Regions from separate parts of the Homo sapiens genome. Here region 1 is linked to region 2. The links are contacts of gene promoters, found by promoter capture Hi-C in human tissues and cell types (Jung and others, 2019). All regions are on one chromosome and are shown on one strand. Each heading gives the region's core, a stretch centred on a gene start or on the middle of the fragment in contact. The rest is flanking DNA. Distances are from core to core; before and after follow the strand shown.

Region 1 (4,244 bases), core at 1,103-3,602, 1.1 Mb after region 2:
GGTGAGATGATTATTTGAGTTCAGCAGTTTGAGGCTGCAGTGAGCCTAGACTGTGCCACTGCTCTCCAGCCTGGGTGACAGAGTGAGACCTTGTCTCTTAAAAAAAAAAAAAAAAAAAAAGAGCAAATGAACCCAGAGTCTGGAACCCAAATTCTAGAGCCAGATTTAAACACTTTTCATGTTCAAATGTCATCAAGAGCAGACAACCCCAATCACTAATGGATGGATGTGCCCTAGAGAAATTTTACACTCATCACACTGGATATCATGCGATATAAAGACCTGGACTTTGAGTTTCCAAGTGTGCTTTTGCCCAAGTCATACCCCTACACTGCTTGAACCACAAACTACAATTTAGCATTTCCAATGAACTCTGCTCTCACAGAATCCAAGTGCTTGTTCTTCCTCCTGGAAGGGTGAGCAGTTGTGGTGTTAGAAAGAACATTTAAAAAAAAAAAAAAAGAAGCTGGCTTCATATGAGGTCGTCACTTTGCCTCTTTGTCAAAATCATTGAGAGCCCCAAGAGTCAACAATGAGAGTAATGTATTACTGCCTTTGCTATACCTGGATTGCTTGGGCAGTTTAAGTCCAAAACAGCCATGGACTTCATTGACTGCTCAACAAACCATGTAAGTAAACACTTTTGTAATCCATTCCAATACATGCCCAGTCTTACTCACTCTGTTTCATACTTGTGAATGCTGGAGTAATTATTAATGCTCCTGATCAAGGTTTTAGTAATTTCTTAGGCATGTGATTTGCATAGCTATTTCCTGATCCGCCGTCTCTCTCTGCCCTGGAGGTCTTCATTTCTCAGAAACACTTAAAAACAGATTATTTTACTTCTACCCTTCCCCCAACCCATAAATGGAACAGGACTTCCTAGCTCATCTGTATTGCTAATTGGTTTGAAAGCATGTGACTCCATGCATTCTTGCCATTAAAACACAAGCAAGCCTTTTTTGAAGTCAGCTTTACCAGCAGTGATAGGCAGATTTCTATCTTTGTTCCCCCACTGTGTCTTGAGGCAAGGGAGAAATGTAAATGATCACGTTATTTAAATATTGTTCTGAAATCATGTAGTGAATTCCAACGTAATATAAAAATGTTCTAGAAGTCTGTATAATAGGGGTGTCCACAAACACACTGGCAAAGAAGAAAGGGATTATAGATGCTTTTCACTACTGCTTGAGAAACAAGGGGAAAATCTGGGAGCTGAATCTAGGAGTGAGGAGACAGTCTGGCTTTTCAGAGGATTGACTCTCTAAGGGGAGAATTCTGGAAATAGGAAAAGAGATTGAAATCTATGCCAGACCTTTCCAACTCTCACCTTCTCTCTGGTCTATTTGGCTGTCTGCAATATCCTCCAGGGGAAACCATTCTTGGTGGAGGGTCCCCTTGTAAGAAGTGGACGTGGTAGCTCATGGCTGCTGTGCAAGAGCCTATGCATCTTTGGGATAATGGGGTCTATATACCATAGCATGGACAAGACCACAGCCTAGGTTTTCCTGAGGATCAGGAGCCTATGGAAAGAATCCTTTGTCTTGGAATTCCATATATTCTTTTTTTTTTTTTTTTTTTGGGACAGACTCTCGCTCTTTCACCCAGGTTGGAATGCAGTGACGCGATCTTGGCTCACTGCATGCTCCACCTCCCAGGTTCACACCATCCTCCTGCCTCGGCCTCCCGAGTAGCTGGGACTACAGGCGCCCGCCACCAAGCCCAGCTAATTTTTTTTTTGTATTTTTAGTAGAGACGGGGTTTCACCGTGTTAGCCAGGATGGTTTCGATCTCCTGACCTCGTGATCCAACCGCCTCGTCCTCCCAAAGTGCTGGGACCACAGGCGTGAGCCACGACGCACAGCCAGAATTCCACATATTCTATAAAGAGACATCAGGGCAGAGCGGACATCTTAGGACTTAGCTCACACCTAAGGGTGTGGCGGTGGTGCTATCTAGGAGCTGATACTGCACGCAAAGGGTCTGTTTTCTCAGCCCATGCCACCCACCAGCTAGCTGCAAGGTCCTGTCAAGTCACAAATTCAGTAAAACCAAAAGTGGACTCTCAAAATGCCATCAAGGCTCAAACTCCCACTTTCACATTTACCTGGCAACTCCTTTCTCCTATTCATCTCTCCAGATGCCAGGTGTCCACGAGCCATTTCCAGGCCCCAGGCTCCTCTCTCAATGGAGATCATGCACAGAAGCTATTACAATGAGAATAAGCATGTTGTTTCAATGCTATACTATGTGTTTTTTTCTTATGACTTTGAAATAGCTCCTGTTTTCATTTTTTGAAAACTCTTCTATAAATACAGATTTAGTCTTTCTTGGTATGGTTCTATATAATACAAATATAATATTAACAAGATAATTGTCTTTTTTTCTTAAGGCTGTTTAAGGATCTGCTCTGGAAATGTGTTTTAAGGACATTTTGATTTCCACAATTTCTGAAGGTTGTACAGATAGAACCTCTTAAACAAAGAGAGTTAATTTTTTGTCTCTCTCTTTTTTCTTTTTGTTACAATCAATAAATCTGCTCGTTCTAGTCTATGATTGATATGTTCTTTGGTGTTACTATTGAACATGACAGCACAGAAGTGAAAGCAACATTTTTGTACTGAATAGCCTTGTAAGAGCAGTAAATATCAGAACAGTTTTTAAACTCATTTATAAACAGGACATTCTTGTTCAGCCATTTCTCCAGGTTTGGAAATGAGATATTCCATTTCATCATTGAGGATAACTGATTTGCTACCTCTCTACAGAAAACATTCCCCACTTGGAAATAAGTAAAAGAGATGGATTGTTTTTGTTTTTGTTTTGGTGTGTATGTGGATTAACATGGAGATATTTAACTTATGACATACTTGGATGAGTATGTCATGGGATACATTTTAATATTTAAAAGACATACACATAAGAAACAGTTATCAAGTGATAGGCTCCCAATTCTTTTAAAAAGATCCAAAAAGGAATTTGTACAGAAAGGGGGCTTTTCACTCACTTTGTGCTTTTATACCTTTCAGAAAGAATAATGTGAATAGTAGGATAGTCTTTTACTTAAAAGTAAAAAGATGACTATTTTTGGTTGTCTGAGATTCGGAGACATTTTTCTTTGTTCAGGCAAATCCCTCTCACCCTTCCTCCCTATGAGGGCACCAGCACCATCCCCAACTAAGTACCTCAGTGGTCTCTGAGCTTCATTTGTTTGTGCAGGTACCGGAGCCAAGATACTGGAAAATGACTTTAAAAACTCTTCTGTGGTACCAAGAACCTCATGCAAACTCACAGATTGTATAGAAGAGCGTGTGTCTTGGAGCAGGGTGGGGTGAGGGTACAGAATGAGAAGAGCTTTGGGGCCTGGAGTGGGCGTGGAGAGGCAGCAACAAGGTTGATAATACCTGGTGACATGTTAACTAAGGGCAGATTATAAGCCGTGGGGCAAGCTAGAGTGATCACTCAATTGGAGGGAGGGTTTGTTACACTATAGAGAAACAGCACACAGATACCATCAGAAACCCTAATGTAAAGCTAACAATGAACCCAGAAGAGGTTACAGCTTCTTTACATTTTTCACTGTAAGATAAAACATTTCTATGACTATTTAGAATTGCTGTGTCTGATACAGTCACCGCTAGCCACGTGTCCCTTGAGTATCTGAAATACTATATGTCAAGTCCAAATTGAGATGTGCCGCAGTGTAAAATACACACTGGATCTCCAAGACTTAATACAAAATAAAAGTAAAATATCTCATTAATAACATTTTATATTGATTGCATATTGAAATGATAATATTTTGAATATACTGGGTTAAATAAAATATATTATTAAAATTAACTCCACATGTTTCTTTTTACCTTTTAAAATGTGGTTACTAGAATATTTTAAATTACATGTGGCTCACATTATCTTTCTCTTGGGCGATGCTGGTTTAGTCAATAATTCAATGTTATGATTATAGATATGTTCTTGGAAATATGTGTTAAGGAGCAGACAGAACAAGATTAACATCTGAAGCTAGAATAATCAGCAAAAGTCACGATTCAATGTTTCAATACATTTAAGATTTTATTCACTGTTATGGAGGGTAGTCATGTAAAAACGTTATATATAGTTATATATACACATTACACACATATATATATATATAATGTTATAATAGTATCTAAAAATTTTTCTTAAGCTGAGGTCTCCCTTCTGTAAAATTCAAATCTGGTAATCATTGACTCAAGGCTACT
Region 2 (4,276 bases), core at 1,160-3,659:
AGTCGGAGGTTGCAGTGAGCTGAGATCGCGCCACTGCACTCTAGTCTGGTGACAGAGAGAGACTCCATCTCAAAAAAAAAAAAAAAAAAGAATTCAAGATGCCAAATTTCTGATACTTGCCTACATAAATTTTATGGCTGAAATACGGAGTTACGCTAGCCTGCTTAAAAAGACTCTGTCGAAACTCGCTCCGTTTTATGGAGGAGAATTTAAATGGTATTGCCACCATTTAACTAATTTTTCCTGAACTGGTAGTGATTCTGCAGTTCTATCTGCAACTGTCACCCAGTTCTAGTCTCCTTTTAAAACATCACACATTCGTGGGGCAGTTGGCGGGGGTTATTCTGCAGCCAAATAATGTGAAGCTAACTAGAACTGAACCAATGCTCATTTGGCAAGGACACCTGAACTCTGAAGCACTTCGTAAACAGCTGATTATTTCTAGTAATACTCCTGTGAAGTTTCAGTATTGAGCCATCCACTGTATTTCATTGCCAACTATATGTCGCCTTAAAAACAAGAAAAGTGCAAGACAGTTCCCTGGTTATTTGAGTCAGAGTCTCGCTCTGTCGCCCAGGTTGGAGTGCAGTGGCACAATCTCGGCCCACTGCAACCTCCACCTCCTGGGCTCAAGCGATCCTGCCACCTCAGCCTCCCGAGTAGCTGGGACCACAGGCGGGCGCCACCACGCCAGGCTATTTTTGTATTTTTTGTAGAGACCGGGTTTCGCCATGTTGCCCAGGCTGGTCTCGAACTTCTAAGCTCAAGTGATTCGCCCGCCTCGGCCTCCCAAAGTGCTGGGATTACAGGCGTGAGCCCCGGCGCCTGGCCAGTTCCCTGGTTAAAAAAAACTCGCAAATGTAGTCCAATTCGTCTTAAGTGTAAATACCTACCACCTGGGGCAAGACCCAACTTAAAAGGGAGGGGCGCCTCACAACAGTTAACCTGGCACCAGTGATTTGGTCCGAGAATCTTAGGCTTTTAAAGCTCAAGTCCAAACCTTTATTCTACAAATAGATTTTAAATTAAGGGCTTATGGTCTGGTTATAATCGCTAACTCTTACACTGTACTATGTACTTAGTACAGTTCTAAGTGCTTTACACCTATTTACTCCTTTAATCCTCCCAAAAAACCTGAAGCCGAGTGAAGCCAAGTAGTTTGCCCAAGGTAACACAGATATCAAGTGACGAGGTTAGAATTCAAATCCAAGCAGCATAGCTTCAAAACCTAGAGTCTTAAACCACCTGACTCTACTGCTCTTCTAGGACTCAGAGTTCTAATGTGAGAAAAGAATCCTCTATAGAGCTTTCTTTCAATTCCACCATCGCAAATGAATTGCAAACCTGTGACTCAAAAGTTCTTCCTGTGTGCAACCTTAAGTAATCTGACTTTTACATCCAAAATGGGTAACCTCTCTGGAAAACTAAAAGATGCAATGGCCAGTCTGAAAAGAACTCATGCTTCCCGTTGTTAGTGGGGTTCTGTTGTGTTGTTTTTTAATTGCAACACCTGAAACGCCTTAAAACACAAGTAAACAGGCTATCAGCCATTTTCCTGAGAACAGCAAACACCTATTACACTTTCATGATGCCTAAATTGATGAATCTGAGCTAAATACAGGAACGGCTGTCTTTTTCCCAGCTGTCTCTAATATATTTGGAAGACGGTAGACTCAGTTTATGCATGTGAATGTATGTGAGAAATGAGGGGGAAGTGGAGGGTGAGGAGGGGGAAGTGGAGGGTGAGGAGGGGGAAGTGAAGGGTGAGGAGGGGGAAGTGGAGGGTGAGGAGGCTATTCACTCCTCCACCTCTCCAAAGCGGGGCGACTCAGACTCAGACCCTGCTGCTAGAACTTAAAACCAGTATCACACCATTTCTGCCTTGGCCGGCTTCAGTGCCTCTCCAGGCTGTAGGGAGGTGGCTACGTGGCGCTAAGAGGACTTCCCCCAGCCAGAGAGGAGGTGGCAGCCCCAGGTGGTGGCATCCCCTCGCCCGGGGCCCCGCGACAGGGGGCGCCAGGACTTCCCGGGGATCCCCCAGGAGGGCAAAGTCTGAAGTGGCTAGCCTGGAGCCGCAGTTGGGCCAGGGCCTGCCTAGCAGCCCCTCACAGCCTCTGCGACCACTCCTGCCAAACCAACCTCCCAGCCTAAAGGGTTAGCCGACGCGCCGGGGACGGGGCCGGGCTCCTGAGGCAAAGGCACCCAAGACGAACGCTATATTCTGTGGGACACTCACCAGGTTGAGGGGTCCTTCCATTACTTCCATAGACCCCGGGGTAAGCGGCGGCCTTAGGAAGGGGAGTAGTGGCGCCGGGGAACATGGAGGGGACTGCAAGGGAGCTCGACGCAGCCGCGGAGACTGCGGCCCCTCTCTGCGCCCCAAGAGCCAGCGATAGGCGCTGAAGGAGCAACAACCTCACCACTTCCTCCTCCGGCGCCGCGCCGCGGGCCCGCCCCCTGCGCCACCGCCGAGGCCACGCACGGCGCCATGACGTCACACGCGCAAAAGGCTGGTTCAAGGTGGGAATGAGGACAGGCAGTGGGTGGGGCCCAGGGAAGGCGGGGCACCAGCTGATGTACGCTTGCGAGCGGTCAATCTTTCCTCTCGCGAGAAGCGTTAGTTTAGGTTCTTAAAGTCTACACTGAAGTCACGTGAGGAGGTACAGCCTTGCTGTTGAAGACTTGAAATGGCTGTCTTCTGCAATTAGCTTCTCACGTTTCCTTTTAGACTGACTTTTCCTTAAATCTGCTAATCGTTACACCGTTACTTGTGGTCCTGTCCACACCTTTATCATTGTACATGATTCATTTTTTCAAAAGGCCGATTTGAGCAATTCTAGACCATGCACTGGACTAACCCCCCTAGAGGTCAGCACACTCGAATGATTTAGGGCTCTGCCCTCAAGTTGCTCACAAACTGATAGGGAAACAATTTTGGTCTAGCCAAATATAATACTGCATTCATTTAACAATTATGTGCCAAACAAAAGCTAGGTTCGTTCTGTCATGGAATTCACTGACAAATAGTTGTGATTTATGCTGGAAAGGGAACACATAGGGAGCTGTGATAGAGTAACCAAGGTGGAGTTGGGTGGTAAAGGAAAGCCTTTCATGGGGGGCGTGATTTTTTTTGAGAAAGTGTCTTGCTGACGCAATCTCCACTCACTGCAACCTCCCTCTGCCCGCCCCCTGCCCCAGGCGATCCTCACACCTCAGTCTCTTAAGTAGCTAGGAACTACAAGTGCTCAGGCCAGGTTAATTTTTGTATTTTTTGTAGAGATGGGGTTTCGCCATGTTGCCTATGCTGATCTTGAACTGCTGAGCTCAAGTGAGCTCAATGATCCGCCCTCCTGGACCTCACAAACTGATGGGATTATAGGCATGAGCTACCGCACCTGGCTAAGGGCGTAATCTTTAAGATTAAACCTTAAAATGCCAGTTAAACAAAGACCCTTCTCGACAAAGGAAATGTCTTATGCCTCAACTCTAAAGGCGGGGAGGTCGGGTGGCGGGAGCTGCAGCATTTCAGAGAGATGCAAAAGAAGATACCAGAGAGATAGGAAACTTCCAAAACATAGGTGTCCTTGCAGTGCACAATGAAACATTTGAATTTTACTCAAAGTGCATTGGGAAATAAGTAAAGGATATTAAGCTAGAGAATAATCTGCTTTAATTTACAGTTTTGAAAAGATTAATTTCCCTGTAATGTGAAGAATAGATTGTGGAAGGCCTAAGGAAAAAGAACCAAGACAAGCTAGTTGATTGACTAATTATGGGCGCTCAGACTGGAATGGAAGTAGGGAAGATTGGGTCATGCATCCACTCATTACATAGTTATCATGTTTCTACCATGTGCCGGAAACCTTGGAAGAGAAGTAGATATATTCAAGATATATTTTTGGGCATCAGGTTGAGAGGAGTTAGTGATGGAATGGCAGTAAAGCATACAGAAAATGGAAGAATCAAATCTCGTATTTAAACAACCAAGTGGCCTAGCACACTGGCTCACCCCTGTAATCCCAGCTCTTTGGGAGGTCAAGGAGAGCAGATCACTTGAGGCCAGGAGTTTGAGACTGGTCTGGCCAACGTGGTGAAACTTCATCTCTACTAAAAGCACTAAAACGTAGCCAAGTGTGGTGGCGCGTGCCTGTAATCCCAGCTACTGGGGAGACTGAGGCAGGAGAATTGCTTGAACCTGGAAGGCAGAGGTTGCAGTGAGCTGAGACCAATCACACCACTGCATTCCAGCCTGGGTGACACAGAGAGACTCTGTCTC

Evidence for each region. Contacts are between HindIII fragments. The study calls those that stand out against the background at their distance.
Region 1: a contact is called between a fragment that was not itself captured here and the fragment with the promoter of NRBF2 in region 2, in 1 of the 25 tissues and cell types used here (aorta).

What each region holds. Positions count from the first base shown.
Region 1 is chr10:62,040,252-62,044,495 of GRCh38, reverse strand. All of the region lies in intron 4 of ARID5B (AT-rich interaction domain 5B), which reads right to left. Among named protein-coding and RNA genes, the nearest start is that of ARID5B, 140 kb to the right of the region's middle. RefSeq lists an enhancer at 3,258-3,317. The HindIII fragment of the contact is 4,679 bases long and covers 13-4,244 here.
Region 2 is chr10:63,131,461-63,135,736 of GRCh38, reverse strand. NRBF2 (nuclear receptor binding factor 2) reads right to left here and starts at 2,409. Exons shown (of 4, transcript NM_030759.5): 1 at 2,237-2,409. The coding sequence starts at 2,266. RefSeq lists silencers at 1,863-2,132, 2,343-2,592. The HindIII fragment of the contact is 15,309 bases long and covers 1-4,276 here.